Regions from separate parts of the Homo sapiens genome. Here regions 1, 2, 3, 5 and 6 are each linked to region 4. The links are contacts of gene promoters, found by promoter capture Hi-C in human tissues and cell types (Jung and others, 2019). All regions are on one chromosome and are shown on one strand. Each heading gives the region's core, a stretch centred on a gene start or on the middle of the fragment in contact. The rest is flanking DNA. Distances are from core to core; before and after follow the strand shown.

What was found. Contacts are between HindIII fragments. The study calls those that stand out against the background at their distance.
Region 1: a contact is called between a fragment that was not itself captured here and the fragment with the promoter of SLC25A15 in region 4, in 1 of the 25 tissues and cell types used here (spleen).
Region 2: a fragment that was not itself captured here is called in contact with the fragment with the promoter of SLC25A15 in region 4 in 3 of the 25 tissues and cell types used here (liver, mesendoderm cells and spleen).
Region 3: a fragment that was not itself captured here is called in contact with the fragment with the promoter of SLC25A15 in region 4 in 1 of the 25 tissues and cell types used here (spleen).
Region 5: a fragment that was not itself captured here is called in contact with the fragment with the promoter of SLC25A15 in region 4 in 1 of the 25 tissues and cell types used here (thymus).
Region 6: a contact is called between a fragment that was not itself captured here and the fragment with the promoter of SLC25A15 in region 4, in 1 of the 25 tissues and cell types used here (spleen).

Annotation. Positions count from the first base shown.
Region 1 is chr13:41,087,287-41,090,210 of GRCh38, reverse strand. No RefSeq gene overlaps it. Among named protein-coding and RNA genes, the nearest start is that of MIR3168, 12 kb to the left of the region's middle. The HindIII fragment of the contact is 7,858 bases long and covers 1-2,924 here.
Region 2 is chr13:40,490,815-40,493,892 of GRCh38, reverse strand. No RefSeq gene overlaps it. Among named protein-coding and RNA genes, the nearest start is that of LINC00598, 11 kb to the right of the region's middle. The HindIII fragment of the contact is 5,719 bases long and covers 1-3,078 here.
Region 3 is chr13:40,412,067-40,415,214 of GRCh38, reverse strand. All of the region lies in intron 6 of LINC00598 (long intergenic non-protein coding RNA 598), which reads left to right. Among named protein-coding and RNA genes, the nearest start is that of LINC00598, 67 kb to the left of the region's middle. The HindIII fragment of the contact is 4,674 bases long and covers 1-3,148 here.
Region 4 is chr13:40,788,130-40,790,959 of GRCh38, reverse strand. It overlaps SLC25A15 (solute carrier family 25 member 15), which reads right to left and starts at 1,349. Exons shown (of 7, transcript NM_014252.4): 1 at 1,297-1,349. RefSeq lists silencers at 1-67, 1,200-1,779. The HindIII fragment of the contact is 20,114 bases long and covers 1-2,830 here.
Region 5 is chr13:41,045,789-41,048,896 of GRCh38, reverse strand. It overlaps a transcript of ELF1 not described here. Among named protein-coding and RNA genes, the nearest start is that of TRE-TTC1-2, 13 kb to the left of the region's middle. The HindIII fragment of the contact is 3,143 bases long and covers 149-3,108 here.
Region 6 is chr13:41,199,447-41,202,360 of GRCh38, reverse strand. All of the region lies in intron 3 of KBTBD6-DT (KBTBD6 divergent transcript), which reads right to left. It also overlaps the pseudogene MORF4L1P4. Among named protein-coding and RNA genes, the nearest start is that of KBTBD7, 6.3 kb to the right of the region's middle. The HindIII fragment of the contact is 5,217 bases long and covers 1-2,914 here.

The sequences.
Region 1 (2,924 bases), core at 25-2,524, 300 kb before region 4:
GAGGCGGGCGGATCACGAGGTCAGGAGATCGAGACCATCCTGGCTAACACGGTGAAAACCCATCTCTACTAAAAATACAAAAAGTTAGCCGGGCGTGGTGGCAGGCGCCTGTAGTCCCAGCTACTCGGGAGGCTGAGGCAGGAGAATGGCGTGAACCTGGGAGGTGGAGCTTGCAGTGAGCCAAGACTGCGCCACTGCACTCCAGCCTGGGCAACGAGCAAGACTCCGTCTCAAAAAAAAAAAAAAAAGAAATTTTAAAATGAGGCACAATTGATATGCTAAGAGAGGAGAGCAAATGGACTCATATAAAATACACTTCAATACTCTCTAATCAGTAATTGACAGATCCAACAGGCAGAAAGTCATAAGAACATAGTTAAACTGAATAGCACCATCAGTTAACTGGATCTAATTGATACTTTAAAGTACTTCATCTAACAACAGCAGAATACACATTCTTCTCAGATTCACGTTGGACATTTATCAAAATATGCCACATTCTGGGCTATGAAACACACCTTAACAAATTTCAAAGAATAGAAATCATATAAAGCATGCTTTCAGATCACAATGGAATTACATTAGAAATCCTAACAGAAAGCTGAAAATTCCCAAATATTTGGGAACTTCTAAATAACGCGTAGGTAAAAAAAGAAGTCTCAAGAAATTTTAAAATGTTCTGGATCAAACAAAAATGAAAATACAACTTAAGACTCGTGGGATGCAGTGAAAGCAGTCCTTAAAGGGAAATTTAAAGCATTGAATGAATGTGCTAGAAAAAAAGGAAAGACGTAAAATCAATCATTTAAACTTCTAACTTAGGAACTAGAGAAACAATAGAAACCTAAAACAAGCAGAAGAATAGAAAAAATTAGAGCAGAAATCAATGAAATTAAAAATAGGAAATCAAGAGCATGTCTACAAAACCAAAGCTTGTTCTTTGTAAAATTCAATCAAACTGATAAACCTCATGCAAGCTAACCATAAAAAAGAAACAAATTACTAATATTTTGTTAGCAATAAAAGAGAGGTCGTCAGTACTACCCATGGACATTAAAAGGACAATAAAGGAGTATTATAAACAACTCTATGCACACAAACTTGATAACTTAGATGAAATGGACCAATTCTTTGAGGCACCAATTACCAAAACTTATATGCGAAATAGATCCTCTGAATAGGTCTATATCTATTAATGAAATTGAATCAATAATTAGTAATCTTCCAAAAAAAAAAAAAAAGCACCAGACCATATGCTCCCCTGATGAATTTTACCAGTTAATGGGGATATATGATTCCCATTTATGTCACCCTTCTTTTAAAAAAAATTTTCATCATCCTTCTTTTAAAAAGATATTTTCTAAAGTTTGCTATAATTAGAATGTAATGTTTTCAGAGGTCAGGAGTTTGAGAACAGCCTAGCCAACATGGTGAAACCCTGTCTCCACTAAAAATACAAAAATTAGCCAAGCATGATGGTGCGTGCCTGTAGTCCCAGCTGCTTGGGAGGCTGGGGCAGGAGAATTGCTTGAACCCGGGAGGCTGAGGTTGCAGTGAGCTGAGATCATGCCACTGCACTCCAGCCTGGGGAAGAGTGAGACTTTCTCTCAAAAAACAAACAAACAAACAAACAAACAAAAAAGAATGTAATGTTTTCAATGTAGAAATAACCAATTAAAAGACAGATAAGTAGCCTGTTTTGAAAAATGAGATGCAAGTCTTAAATGCTAATAGATTTGATATATTGAGATTAGTGGAGAAGGGAAATTTGCGGAGGTTTACCATGGAAGATTATTCTGTTGGTTCTGTGAAGGATGAGCTAGAATAGCAAAAATTGGGAGTGCAGTAGTATTCTAGGCTTGAAGTGAAGATGGCTTAAACTAGGCTAGTGAGTTTACCATTAAAAAAAAAAGAGTACCAGGCTGGGCGCAGTGGCTCATGCATATAATCCCAGCATTTTTGGAGGCTGAGGCAGGAGGATCGCTTTAGCTCAGAAGTTCGAGACCAGCCTGGGCAACATAATGAGACACTCGTCTCTACAGACAAAAAAAAAAAAGAAGAAGAACCAGCCAGGTGTGGTGGCATGCCTGTTTGCCTGTAGTCCCAGTTACTTAGGAGGTGGAGGGAGGAAAATCACTTGAGCTCAGCAGGTCGAGGTTGCAGGGAGCTCTGATCACGCCTCTATACTCTGGCCTGGGTGAGAGTAAGATCCTGTCTCAAAAACAAAAAATATTGAATAAATACAGGAGGTTGGCAGAAATAAGTTTCTACAAACTCTTTTACGATTTTGTAAGGCAGAAGTGATGTTTATGATACAACGTGAAATTGAATGCTTTTTTTTTTGGTGGTAAAATATACATCAAATTAACTATATATATGCATACACATACATGCATATAAATATATATGTATGTGTAAAAATATAAAAATATATTTAATATAGATTTAATATCAATATATCTATCAATTTAATATTAACATTAATTTTAAATTTTTAATTTTAATATTATCAATATATATATATAATATAAATTATATATAATATATAAATATATATTATATATATTTATGTATTAAAACTATATATATATGTATTTTTTTTTGGTAGAGACAGGGTCTTGCTCTGTTGCCCAGGCTGGTCGTGAACTCCTAAGCTAAAGTGATCCTCCCACCTCAGCCTTCCCAAATGCTGGGATTACAGGCATGAGCCACTGTGCCTGGCCTTAACAATTTTTAAGTGTACTGTCGAGTGACATTAAGTACATTCACACTGTTGTATAACCATCACATCATCCATCTCTAATGAATTAATTTTACGCTATTTTAGCCTGAAAATCAAAAATCAAGAGCTTTGTTTGATTTACAAAAGAAACCACACAGAATATATCAAGCCATTTAGAGAATATCTAAATTGCAATAATTGG
Region 2 (3,078 bases), core at 516-3,015, 300 kb after region 4:
TCCTTGGGACCCATGAATTTAGGATGTGGAAGGGAGAGTGGGAGATGCAGAAGGCTTCATGTGATTTTCCTGTGCCTGAACCTGCCATTCCTCTGTTCTCACGATGGCTCTGGATGCCCCTTCTATCCCTTCTGTCATCTGTCCCTCTAGGTGCAAGTTTTAGATTCCCTGGAGAGACCATCTGACTGGCCCAGCTTGGCCAGGCGTGGGCATCAGTTCGAGCCTGGGGAGTCTCAAGTGGTATAAGCAGTGTAAGGGGCTCACGATAGAAGGCATGGGGCAGGGATGAAGTCACTGTCCTGAGCTGGGCAGGTGCTCAGAAACGGCTCATTACATTCATGCATCAGACTAGATACTGCACTAGGGAGACCTGGGGCTGCAGTTAGCTGCTTACTAGCGGGGTGTCTTTAGGGAATCCATTTTACCACCTTATCCTTCAGTCTCCTCATTGGAAATGGGGAAGTTGGTGATACCTGTATTTCTTACCTCACCAGTCTAGGACCAGCTACATAGTTTGCCGGTTCCAGTACAAAATGAAAACATGGGACACTTTTTTCCAGCATGATTATTAAGACAGCAACAGCAGAGCATTAAACCAAGTGTGGGGTCCTTTTAAATGTAAAGTCCTAGGGAGGTTGCACACCCAAGAAGCTGCCCTGCACAAGATGGTGATAATGATCTCATGCAAAGCCATATAGCACAAGCATCATACATCTTCCGCTTGTGTGTTTCGTCATTTAATCTTAAAATGTTCTTTATTTTTATTTATTTACTTATTTTTGAGACGGAGTCTCTCGCTCTTTCACCCAGGCTGGAGTGCAGCGGCACGATCTCGGCTCACTGCAACCTCCGCCTCCCGGGTTCAAGCAATTCTCGTGCCTCAGCCTCTGGAGTAGCTGGGATTACAGGCGCTGCCACCATGCCTGGCTAATTTTTGTGTTTTTAGTAGAAGCGGGGTTTTGCCATGTTGGCCAGGCTGGTCTCAAACTCCTGATCTTAGGGGATCTGCCTGCCTCGGCCTCCCAAATTGTTGGGATTACAGGCGTGAGCCACTGGGTCCAGCCAAAATGTTCTTTAAAAGAAGGAAACTTGGCTGACACTCCGTGGAGAGGTGATATTCAGCCGATGTGCCCTGGGACAGGCTGGCCTATTGTCACATCCCTCGGAGTTGGCCGGCACCCATGCTGTTGAGATTGTGAAGCAGTTTCCAGCATCAGCCCCATGCAACACTCATCAGAGTGAAAGACAAGGGTTTCTGCTGCCTCTTGTTCTGTTCTGGCCTTCACCATGCTCAGAGGGAAGCTCCATGAGGGGACCCTGCAGGAAGTTCAAGAACGTGGCTGGGACCACAGCCTTGCGAGGTCCGTGCCTGACTGCCACCTGCCCCCACAGGCTCACCCGGCAGCCCTCCCTGGGGACCAGCATCTGGGAGGGGCTCTCCAGTGGCACCACTTGGCTCTCAGGGAAGGGAATCTGTGTTGGTCCATTTGTGTTGCTATAAAGGAATACCTGAGACTGGGTAATTTATAAAGAAAACAGATTTATTTGGCTCATGGTTCTGCAGGCTGTACATAAAGCCTGGTACCAGCATCTGCTTCTGGTGGGGGCCTCAGGAAGCTTCTGCTCATGGCAGACGGTGAAGGGGGAGCAGGCCCATGACATGGCAAGAGCAAGAGCAAGAGCAAGGGAGGGAGGAGGCGGCAGTCTCCTTTACCCAGCTAGATCTCACATGAACTCATAGCGAGAACTCACTCAATCCTGTGAGGACGGCGCCAAGCCATTCATGAAGGATCCGCCCCTACTATCCTAACACCTCTCACCAGGCCCATCCCCAACACTGGAGGTCATGTTTCAACAGGAGATTTGTAGGAGACACACATCCGAGCTATATAAGAATTCATTCCCCTGCAGAAGGGAGGGTGGCCTTTTCATCTTGAATACAAAACAAATCATTTCTACTCTACCTTCTTTTCTCACTTGAGCCCATCCAAAACTCATGATTAGGTCATCTCATTGTCCACTCGCCTAGTCCACTGCTGGACTAAGCACTGTCCTTTTCACAGGCTTCTGTCTCAGTGACAGTCTGTGACCCCCAGGGGCTGCTGTATCAATTTCTTGATCAGAAGGGGCTCTGGAAGTTCCCTTGCTTCTAGATCTTCTCTCTCCTTGCTTCTCCTTCTTATGCTCCTGGCGTCGAGGACTTATGCCAGGTTGTCTGGAGGCCCCATCTTGCTCCTGTTCCTTCTTGCCTCCCTGCAAACATATTTTGGAGTCTGGAAAAGTGTTCTTCAGTACCACAGAGCCAGTCATACCCCTACCCAACTCCCACCAACTCCCCACTTTCTGGTAAAGCTTCTCCCTAACTTTCTTCTGAGAAGTCCCTGTTAGCCACCAATGGTCTATTAGCTGACAGAATGGCCTGTAGAAGGGGAAGGAGGAAGAAGGGAGAGAAGGAGGAAAGGAACACCACCTATCCAAGGAAATTCAAGATAACTGCATTCCTCCCCTCTGAAATAATGAAGGGAGCATGTGTCTCATAATTCAGGGCAGTTCCTTCTCTTATGAGTGGCCGGCATTCCAGATCCTAAGGCAGCCGCTTGGAAATCAATACACTTTGCAAAGAAATGTTATTATGCCTCATGCTTCTCAACCCAGCCCACAGAAGCATTTTTACGATGTGGACCTGAAGCACTCCACCAATCAACCAGGTTCACAACCCCCAAACCCCTGTAACGCGGTCTCTGTGATATACTGATGAAAGCTGTGTTACATTTTGGGGTACTGGTGACAGCTAGCAGAGGGGATACCATCCTCCAGGGTGTAGCAGTTTGCATACCTAAAGATGCTTCTACCTTCTGGAAGATGCCTCCCCAGCTATGAACATCCTCATAAAGACAGTGCCTTTTTGGGGGCATACACATCCCAACGGGCAAAATATGCCCAGTGGAGGTGAAGGCTGGACTCCAAACCCAGGCTCTCCTGTGGCCCTTTGCTCACAAGAGTGTTAGAGCATCATTATTATATATATATATTTTTTTCTCAGAGAGCCCATTTTGTATGCATTCTCTGCAGCTGCAG
Region 3 (3,148 bases), core at 477-2,976, 380 kb after region 4:
GGTACAGGCAAGGCAGAGGCTCAGGGGGAAAGACAGATCATAGTTCCAGGTTAGAGGGGCTGTGAGCAGCAGAGACTGCAGAGACTGCACGCAGGGTTCACAGTTTGCTCCATAAACTGGCCCTGCTCAAGATGCTCCTCTGCCTTCCTCGCTTCACCTCTGCACCACTGATTGAGTGCAGTGAGCAATGCCAATGGGACCAAACTGTGCCAGGCTCCATGAACGTGCTCTGAGCCCACTTCACTCAGTTCTTTCCTTTCGTGTGGCACTCAATCAGCTCATTGTTGAAATGTGCACTGTTCAAGTGGTAGACTTCTGTATCTGAGGAAATTCTGAGCTGAGATTAAGCTGCTGCATGATTTCAGCCCCCTTCAAATTTAATCTCTGCTCATAGTGCTATTTATTCTGCAAAATCATTTGTATATAGCACATTTTCCTCATTATATTCTCTATGAATCCAATTACACTAAGGCTGTTGATACAGGACCATGATCTTGGTTCATACTCATGACCAATGGATTGGTTAACTGAGAGTTTCTTTATCTCCTCTCCCCCTTCCCCAGCCCTCCAGCCTCAGATTAATATCTAGAAGCTTCTGGAAGACTGATAACAAAATGTTTTTGCAAAGAGAAAAGTTTGGTTATTTTTCTTGAGCTTTGGATAACCAAGTTTACTTATAGTCTGGCAAAGAATAACCATAGAAGGCACAGGCCTGGATGCTCAAATTCTTTCTCTTAAAAATGAATGTTTATATTGATCTGAATTAGAAGATACTGAGGGTGACGGAGTGGGATAGGCCACATAGGACCTGCTGTAAGGTAGGAGTCCTGTTCTTGTAGTAATTTAGAGAGAAGCAAAGAAAAGTGGCACATTGGAAGACAAGAGGAATCTTTTGCATATGATGCTGTGTCTTTTTCAGTCTTGTTTATCTCCTGGCCTTATTTTTATTTTTGTGGGAATTAAAGGTAGGTCATTTATACTGCAATGTATAGAGATGAATAATATTTGGGGTGCTTTTGAGTAGCATTTCTCTCTCTGAGATTTTTTGATGCATTTGGGTAAGTAAATCAAATATATTTCACTTATATAAAATTGGAACAAATTGAAAGCTAGGAGAGAAAATAAAATCAGTAAAGCCTTGGATTAATCAAGCCTCTAGATCCAACAATGAATATACAGGAAAACAAGAAACAGAGGAACGTGGTAAAAGACCATGGGACGAGGTTAGCAAAATCCAGATACGGGAAACTGGAAAGTTCTTCCTCTTTCTCCTCCTCCTTCTTTTTCTTCTTCTTCAACACCACCGCCACATGGCAAAAATGCATGAGGGAACCTGTAGTTTAAAACAATCTTAGTGATACAATAACCAATAGTAATGTATGGAACTTAGTTGTATCCCAATTCAAACAGTAAACTACATAAAAGATTATAAAGATAATTTTAGGACAATGAAGTACCAATGAACAGCCCTAATAATAGACTGTTGGCTCTAGTATCACTTCCCACTAAAAGGAACCAGTGCTCCTAGGAAATGTGGCCAATTTCAGGCATGATTTACAGTGTGCATATAGAAAATCTTGTCCTATTAGATAGCAAGGAAGGCATCAAAGACTACTAGGGTCATATTAGAAAAACTCAGAGCTAACTTGGCTAAAGATGGGGAAATCTGAGCATGAAAAAGAATTACTTCAGTGAATATAAATGGTTCAAATATGTTTAAATTTATGAGTTCATAATATTACTCTTAAAAGAAAAATGAATTGATCGCCACAGGAGGATGCCAAGGAACCAGCTTATTACTTGAAACTAATTGAGGAGAAAGAATCAAGCATCTACTCTGCCTTTCTAATATGAACTGTACCATCAGATAGCTAAGTAGAAGATGAAGAAAGTTTCTCATTATAGAAGGATTCCAACTAATAATTGAAGTGAGGAATATTACCATTTTGTAATCCCTAATGAAGTGATGGATCCAGTCATTGAACATGAATGAATAGTAATATCACAAAGCTAGTGGTAACGAAATGTTGTGCATCCCCCAGTGGAAAAATAGAAATCCTGTATGACATAGGCTTGACAAAAATACCTGAATATGATTAAGCCTCTAGCTCTAACTACCAATGTACAGGAAATACGGATGACAGAGAAACACGCTAAACTATACCACGGGGCTACAATCGCCAGAATCCAGACTGTGGGGACCTTTATAGGGCAAACAACACAGTTTCTTCAAAATGTATAGCAAGGAAAAAAGTAAGAAGTGGTAAAGGAACAATTAATATCAAAGAAAACCTAAAGGACGTCAATCAATTGCAATGTACAGATCTTTAAATTCCATTTTTAAAAAGTATCCTCATTTTTTTAAACTGTGAAAATATTTTTGACATTTATGAGTTAAGAAAATTTAAACATTGTATAAGGAATTATTACTGCGTTGCCTGTGATACTGGTACTGTAGTTATGTCAGAGTCTTTATCTTTCACGGATACATTTAAAATATTTACAGAAAGGACATAAAGTCTGGGATTTGCTTCAGAAGTGTAGAGGGATGGGGATGAGGCCAGAAAGACTAAGGGTTGATGATTGTTGGGGTCAAATGATGTACATATAAGAGATTATTGTGCTATTTTATCTACTCTGGTGTAGGTTCAAAATTCTGCATAATAAAAAGTTAAGAAAGAAAGATATGGACATGTGAATACCAACTCATGTTTAATTGTATTGAGTAGTTAATGTTATTTTTTAAGTATGTTAGTGGTAATTTGGATTTCCATATTTAAAAATATAAAATGATTTCTAAGGTTTGCTTCAAAATAATTAGTGCTGGGGGGTAAAATTGAAATAAAAGTAGCTACTATTGTATACATTTGAAAATTTCCTAAATTTAAGGTAACATACAAAAAAAAAGGCCAGGCTGCAATTGAAGAAAAAAATTAGGATTGCAGCAAAGAATAATGAATATAAAAATGCCTTATATTTATGACTAAATTGAATGAAAGCCAAGCATTTATTTTTATTATTAATATTTCTCATGCTAAAGTTTTTGGTCATTAAAAACAAAAACTTGGCCGGGCGTAGTGGCTCACGCTTGTAATCCCAGCACTTTGGGAGGCCGAGGCAGGTGGATCACCTGAGGTCAAGAGTTTGA
Region 4 (2,830 bases), core at 100-2,599:
TACATTCTATCTGTCCCTAAGAATTAAACCCTGTTAGGTGAGCCAAACTTAAACACATTAAATTCTACAAATAGGCCAGGCACAGTGGCTCACGCCTGTAATCCCAGCACTTTGGGAGGCCAAGGCGGGCGGATCACCTGAGGTCGGGAGTTCGAGACCAGCCTGACCAACATGAGAAACCCCCGTCTCTATTAAAAATACAAAATTAGCCTGGCGTGGTGGGCCATGCTTGTAATCCCAGCTACTCGGGAGGCTGAGGGAGGAGAATAGCTTGAACCCAGGAGGCGGAGGTTGCGGTGAGCCGAGATCGCCCCATTGCACTCCAGCCTGGGCAACAAGAGCGAAACTCCGTCTCAAAAAAATAAACAAACAAATAAATTCTACAAATAGCCATTAGAATTATTAGGATAGAAAACGATGATGGGTACTAACAGATTCACTCAGAAGGAGTGGGCAGCTAATTCACATTATGTGTAGCTCTGGCTTGGAGAAGACACAGGGCTTGGAGGAGGCAAGACTGTTCAGCATGAATTAAAATTGATTTATGAGCTTGCTGTAGCACTTGGAATAGAAAAAAGAATCTTTTCAGCGCCTTTGACCCCTCTCTCAAATTACACCAGGGTGCAACTGAGGAACAACAGTGCCGACCACCCACTTTTCTCGACCCTTGGGGAAAATAACTTTTTTTTGGAAGGGAGAGTCAGTAGATGAGGCTGCATTTTCCACCAGGGAACACGAACTGCTGCGGGAAGATCCCAGCTTCTGGCTAAAGGAGCCGCAGGCCAGCTCGCCATCCAGTCCCCAGAGCCCGGGCTTTAGGTAAAGCGTGGAGATGCAAATCAGTTTCGCCGCCAAGGACCGGCCAGGCGCGTCTCCTCCCGGGCCTCGCAAGGAACAGGTCAGGGAGACGACTTCCAACTTTCTTGGCCGGACCCTAAACGTTCACCGCCCCTGCCCAGCCGCCCACTCCTGGGCAGCCAGCAAGTCTCCATTCACAAGCGGCTCCATGCTGCCCAGCACTGGCGCCCCTGAGGCGCGGAGCCCCGCAGCCAAATGACAGGACTTGGGGGCAAACAAGGACAAAAGTTCCCACCAGGTGGGCACTGCAGGAAGGAGGCCGACAACCCCGAGATTCTCCGAGTCCCGCGGCACGTGCGCTGCGACGCTGGCCGCTTCCCCCGCCGCTCGGGAAGGTCACGCCGCCCGCACACCGAGGCCCGCCCCGCGCCCCGCTCCCCGCTCCCTCTGCCTGGCGCGCTCCCCGCAGCTGCAGGCGCCAGACCGGGCTGCGCTCACCGCCGCGCCGGCGTGGCCGCGTCCAGCTCAGGCTCCGCCGCCCGCTCTCGGCTCCGGGTCGCCGGCTGGGGCGGCCACTTAACACCCACGTCGGCAACGGCCGGCCCTTCGCCCCTCCCTTCGCGCAGGCATCCCGGACTGCGGCCCCGCGAAGCTCAGGAGCGCCCCTGCGGCTGGCGGGCGGCCTGCCCAGGGCCGTGCCCGAGCCGAGACCGGGAGCCGCCACCGCCCACCGGCCCTGCCACCGCCCCCAGCACGGGAAGCGGAAGTGGGCGTGGGGCCGCGGCGCGCACAGCCAGCCCGCGACCCGGCGTGGTGCTGCCGCCGACCCTGGTGAAGGTGGAGAGCGGGGCCTGCGCCTCCGGAGACTTTCCCACCTCTGGGATCCCCGAGACCCTCTCTGAGGCCGGACCCTTGTTAGCCCGCTGGGCTGGGACTGGGGGCTGGGGGCTGGTAATGTCAGTGGTTGGGAGGACTTACTTTTTAGCTACTTTGACCTTGTTGGGAGGCTAAGGCCTTATTTATAAATTATATTTGAGTACAAAATTATACTCGGGATCCAAGGCCCTAATAGGAAATACAACTAAGTATGAAAATACAGGAATTAGCCGGGCATGGTGGCTCACGCCTGTAATCCCAGCACTGTGGGAGGCCGAGGTAGGCGGATCACCTGAGGTCAGGAGTCCAAGACCAGCCTGGCCAACATGGTGAAACCCCGTGTACTAAAATTACAAAAATTTATCCAGCGTGGTGGTGCGTGTCTGTAACCCCAGCTACTAGGGAGGCTGAGGCAGGAGAATCGCTTGAATCTGGGAGGTGAAGGTTGCAGTGAGCCAAGATTGCATCACTACACTCCAGCCTGGGCTACACAGCGAGACTCCGTTTCATAAAAACAAACAAACAACGACAAAAAAAAAAAGGTGTGGTGACACATGCCTCTATTCTTAGCTATTTGGGAGGCCAAGGCGGGAGGATCGCTTGAGGCCAGGAATTGGAGGCCGCAGTGAGCTATGATGGCACTGTTGCACTCCAGCCTGGATGACAGAGACCTCATCTCTCTCTCTCTCTCTCTCTCACCCACACACACACACACACACACACACACACACCCTCCACACAGTGTAATTTTATTTTACAACTTTAAGCCTTGTTTAGATGTGCTGTTGGATTATTATTTTTTTCTTTTTTTTTCTTTTTTTTTTTGAGACAGAGTCTCACTCTGTCACCCGAGCTGGAGTGCAATGGTGCAATCTCAGCTCACTGCAACCTCCCCCTCCTGGGTTCAAGCGATTCTCCTGCCTTAGCTTCCCAAGTAGCTGGGATTACAGGCATGCGCCACCACACCCAGCTAATTTTGTATTTTTTAGTAGAGACAGGGTTTCACCACCTTGGCCGGGCTGGTCTCGAACTCCTGACCTCAGGTGATCTGCCTGCCTCGGCCTCTCAAAGTGCTGGGATTACACGTGTGAGCCACCACGTCTGGATGTGCTATTGGATAATTACCTACGTTATTTAAGTGATTTAATTGGTGTTA
Region 5 (3,108 bases), core at 471-2,970, 260 kb before region 4:
GCGGGAGATGAAGAAATGAGTAGGTGAGGACAGTATATACACATCTTTTGAGGAAGTTTGGCTGTGAAAAGCAGGGAGTGAGAATGAATAGTAGTTGTAGTTGGGGTTGCGGTGTGTGACAGGGTGCCAATTCAGGTTCTTTTTTTTTTTTTAAAGGAAAAACTTGAATTAAAAAAATACCTTCGGCTAGGCGTAGTAGCTCACAACTGTAATCCCAGCACTTTAGCAGGCTGAGGTGGGCGGATTGCTTGAGCCTAGAATTTTAGACTAGCTGGGGTAACATACTGGTATCCTGTCACTATAAAATATTAAAAAATTAGCTGGGCTTGGTGGTGTGCCCATAATCCCAGCTACTCGGGAGGCTGAGGTGAGATCACTCGAGCCCTGGAGGTCAAGGCTGCAGTAAGCTGTGTTTGTACCACTGCACTCCAGCCTGAGTGACAGATGGAGACCTTGTCTCAAAGAAAAGACTGTAGGCAGTTCCAAGATGGCCAAATAAGAACAGCTCCAGTCTACAGCTCTCAGCGTGAGTGACGCAGAAGACGGGTGATTTCTGCATTTCCAACTGAGGTACCGGGTTCATCTCACTGGGGCTTGTCGGACAGTGTGTGCAAGACAGTGGGTGCAGGCCACCGAGCGTGAGCCGAAGCAGGGCGAGGCATCGCCTCACCTGGAAGCGCAAGGGGTCAGGGAATTCCCTTTCCTAGCCAAGAGAAGCTGTGACAGAAGGCACCTAGAAAATCGGGTCACTCCCACCCTAATACTGTGCTTTTCCAACGGTCTTAGCAAATGGCACACCAGGAGATTATATCCTGTACCTGGCTTGGAGGGCCTCATGCCCACAGACCCTCGCTCATTGCTAACACAGCAGTCTGAGATCGAACTGCAAGGTGGCAGTGAGGCTGGGGAAGGGGCACCCGCCATTGCTGAGGCTTGAGTAGGTAAACAAAGTGGCCTGAAGCTCGAACTGGGTGGAGCCCATTGCAGCTCAAGGAGGCCTGCCTGCCTCTGTAGACTCCACCTCTGGGGGCAGGGCATAGCCAAACAAAAGGCAGCAGAAACCTCTGCAGACTTAAATGTCCCTGTCTGACAGCTTTGAAGAGAGTAGTGGTTTTCCCAGCACAGAGTTTGAGATCTGAGAACAGTCAGACTGCCTCCTCAAGTGGGTCCCTGACCCCCAAGTAGCCTAACTGGGAGGCACCCCTAGTAGGGGCAGACTGACACCTCACACGGCCAGGTACCCCTCTGAGATGAAGCTTCCAGAGGAATGATCAGGCAGCAACATTTGCTGTTCAGCAATATTCTCTGTTCTGCAGCCTCTGCTGCTGATACCCGGGCACACAGGGTCTGGAATGGACCTCCAGCAAACTCCAACAGACCTGCAGCCTGAGGGTCCTGACCCTTAGAAGGAAAACTAACAAACAGAAAGGACATCCACACCAAAAGCCCATCTGTACGTCACCATCATCAAAGACCAAAGGTAGATAAAACCACAAAGATGGGGAAAAAACAGAGCAGAAAAACCAAGAATTCTAAAAATCAGAGCACTTCTCCCCCTCCAAAGGAATGCAGCTCCTCGCCAGCAACGGAACAAAGCTGGACGGAGAATGACTTTGACGAGTTGAGAGAAGAAGGCTTCAGACGATCAAACTTCTCTGAGCTAAAGCAGGAAGTTTGAACCCATGGCAAAGAAGCTAAAAACCTTGAAAAAAGATTAGACAAATGGCTACCTAGAATAACCAGTGTAGAGAAGTCCTTAAACGACCTGATGGAGCTGAAAACCATGGCAGGAGAACTACGTGACGAATGCACAAGCTTCAGTAGCCGATTTGATCAACTGGAAGAAAGGGTATCAGTGATTGAAGATCAAATAAATGAAGCGAGAAGAGAAGTTTAGAGAAAAAAGTAAAAAGAAACGAACAAAGCCTCCAAGAAATGTGGGACTATGTGAAAAGACCAAATCTGCGTCTCATTGGTGTACCTGAAAGTGACGGGGAGAATGGAACCAAGTTGGAAAACACTCTTCAGGATATAATCCAGGAGAACTCCCCCAATCTGGCAAGGCAGGCCAACATTCAAATTTGGGAAATACAGAGAACACCACAAAGATACTCCTTGAGAAGAGCAACTCTAAGACACATAATCGTCAGATTCACCAAAGTTGAAATGAAGGAAAAACTGTTAAGGGCAGCCAGAGAAAAAGGTCGGGTTACCCACAGAGGGAAGCCCATCAGACTAACAGCAGATCTCTCAGCAGAAACTCTACAAGCCAGAAGAGAGTGGGGGCCGATATTCAACATTATTAAAGAAAAGAGTTTTCAACCCAGAATTTCATATCCAGCCAAACTAAGCTTCATAAGTGAAGGAGAAATAAAATCCTTTACAGACAAGCAAATGCTGAGAGATTTTGTCACCACCAGGCCTGCGCTGCAAGAGCTCCTGAAGGAAGCACTAAACATGGAAAGGAACAACTGGTACCAGCCACTGCAAAAACATGCCAAATTGTAGAGACCATTGATGCTAGGAAGAAACTGCATCAACTAACAAGCAAAATAACCAACTAACATAGTAATGACAGGATCAAATTCACACATAACAATATTAACCTTAAATGTAAATGGGCTAAATGCTCCAATTAAAAGACACAGATTGGCAAATTGGGTAAAGAGTCAAGACCCATCAGTGTGCTGTATTCAGGAGACCCATCTCATGTGCAGAGACACACATAGGCTCAAAATAAAGGGATGGAGGAAGATCTACTAAGCAAATGGAAAACAAAAAAAGGTAGGGGTTGTAATCCTAGTCTCTGATAGAACAGACTTTAAACCAGCAAAGATCAAAAGAGACAAAGAAGGCCATTACATAATGGTAAAGGGATCAATTCAACAAGAAGAGCTAACTATCCTAAATATATATGCACCCAATACAGGAGCCCCCAGATTCATGAAGCAAGTCCTTAGAGACCTATAGAGAGACTTAGACTCCCACACAATAATAATGGGAGACTTTAGCACCCCACTGTCAACATTAGACAGATCAATGAGTCAGAAAGTTAATAAGGAAGGATATCCAGGAATTGAACTCAGCTCTGCACCAAGTGGACCTAAT
Region 6 (2,914 bases), core at 56-2,555, 410 kb before region 4:
AAGTGCAGTGGCATGATCCCAACTCACTGCAACCTCCATCTCTCAGGCTCAAGCAATCCTCCCACCTCAGCCTCCTGAGTAGCTGAGACTAGAGGCCTGTGCCACCATGTCCAGATAGTGTATGCTATACTTCAATACAAGTTTTTAAATAATAAAATTAAAAGTTAAGAGGCTGAGGTGGGATAATCACTTGAGTTCAGGAATTTGAGACCAGCCTGGGGAACATAATAAGACCCTATCTCTTAAAAAAGAAAAAAAAAAGATAGGCTGGGTGCAGTGGCTTACTCCCATAATCCCAGCACTTTGGGAGGCTGAGGTGGGCAGATCACGAGGTCAGGAGATGGAGACCATCCTGGCTAACACGGTGAAACGCTGTCTCTACTAAAAATACAAAAAAAAAAGAGAAAAAACTAGCTGGGCGTGGCGACAGGCACCTGTGGTCCCAGCTACTTGGGAGGCTGAGGCAGGAGAATGGCGTGAACCCGGGAGGCGGAGCTTGCACTGCACTACAGCCTGGGTGACAGAGCGAGACTCTGTCTCAAAAAAACAAACAAACAAACAAAAATGGTGTATAACAGGTCTGAAACAAGTTAGCTGCTATGAAATAAATGTGGAACGGAAGTCACGCCCCAAGGCAGCCCCCTCACTAGGTACCCTCCAACTGAGGTAGGGGAGGGTGGACCCATAAAAACTCTCCTGGCAGCCAATGACTAAAGGCAGTGGAGTTGTATTAGTCCATTTTGTGTTGCACATACCAGAATACCTGTAACTGGGTAACTTATAAAGAAAAGGAATTTGGCCAGGCGCGGTGGCTCACGCCTGTAATCCCAGTACTTTGGGAGGCCGAGACGGGCAGATCACTTGAGGCCAGGAGTTCGAGACCAGCCTGGTCAATATTGCCACATCTCTACTAAAAATACAAAAAATTAGCCGGGTGTGGTGGTGCACCCCTGTAATCCCAGCTACTCAGGAGGCTGAGACAGGACAATCACTTGAACCCTCAAGGTGGAGGTTGCAGTGAGCCAAGATCACACCACTACACTCCAGCCTGGGCGACAGAGCAAGGCTGTCTCAAAACAACAACAACAAGAAAAGGAATTTATTTCTTACCGTTCTGTAAGCTGAGAAATCAAGGTCAAGGGGTCATGTTTGGTGAGGGCCTTCTTGCTAGTGGGTAATTTGCAAAGTCCCGAGGCAGTACAAGGTATCACATGAGAGGGAGAGTTGAGCCTGCTAGCTCAGGTCTCTCCTCTTATAAAGCCACCAGTTCCTTTCCCCTGATAACTCATTAATCCATTAACCCATTATTCCATTAATCCATTAACCTGATAACCCATTAATCCATGGGTGGATTAATCTATTCATGAGGGCAGAGCCCTGTGATTCAATCACCCACTAAAGGACCCACCTCTCAATACTGCCACATTGGGGATTATGTTTCAACATCAGTTTTGGAGGGGACAATCCATAGCAGAAATCATTTTGAATACAGAAATAAAGGCGTTAACAGTTTGTAGACTCTACTTAAAAATCAAAGTAAAAACAATACTGAGGGGCCCAGGCTGTACAGCTGGCAGTGCCTGACAGCCTACCTGACGCTGAATTGGATGGGATACAGCATAGGGAGCAGTAGCTGGGTGAGGTAGGAGAAGGGAGTCGGGGTTATCACTTACAAATGGTACTGAAGCCTAAACTCTGAAGTGAGTAGGTGCTGTGCTTTTATGGGCCTCTTTATGAAGCAAATTATGTAAAAGTTGCCATCGAGGACAAACAAGTGAAATACTTTACACATTACGGTGGATTGGATGAAAATTGGAATGAATGGGCTCCAAAAAGTAGAGTACTCAGGTACATGAACACCAATCTGTAGAAACCGGGAGAACTTCGAGAAGCAAATCAGGAACAAAATTCATGGGGGAAGAGGAGAGAGGCTGCCCCAGCAAAGAAGACATCTGGTCTGCAAGGGAAAAATGTTGAAATCATGTGGAAATGGAAATGGAGCAGTACCAATGAGATACCTCAGCCTCCTCAGAAGAGCCCCAGTAGATGCCGCTGTTGAAAACATTCATGAAGAGAGTTGAAGTTAAAGATTTCTGAAGAATTAAAACCATGTTTTGTTGATGAGTGAGACATAATGACCAAACAAAAACAGCTTTATCTTCGTGCCAGGAAAAATGTGGATTCTATTGTAGAGAATTATGTAAATTACAAGAAAACTTGAGGGACCACAGATAATAAGGAGTATGTTTTTAATATGGTTGTGGCAAAAATGGAAAATATTTGAATATAATGTTAGGCACTCAGATACTTTACAAATCTGAAAGACTCCAGCATGCTGAAATCCTTGAAGATTACCCAGAGGCACTCAAGTTCCAGGGGTATGGAAGACCACATCTGTTGATATAATTTGTATGAATTGGACCAATGTTGACCCAAACACCTCTAGAGGAGAAGAACCTTGCTTTATGACTGAACTATCTTCATAATGACTTCCTGGTAAAGAATTCTGCAATTTTATTTAAAGCCAACAATTATGAAGTGGCTGTTCCTGAGAGGATAATTACAGTACGCAAAATGCACAGATGTGAAGAGTACAGTTTATTGAGTTTAGCAATTGCATTCACCCATGTAACCACCAGCCCGGTCTAGAAGAAAACATTTGCATCAGCCCTAGACATTTCCTCATGTTCCTTTCTAGTCAGTCTAGCAATTTGCCACCTCCCCACTACCCCTTACACAAGAGAGGAAGCCTCTATTATGATTTTTATTCATCAAAGCTTATTTTCAGTGTTCTGGAACTTCACACAAATGGTCATACAGTGTCTACTCTTGTGTATCTGGCTTCTTTTGCTCAACATAAAATTTTTGAGAACCATTCACATTATTATATATCAGAGGTTGTTTCTTTCTTACT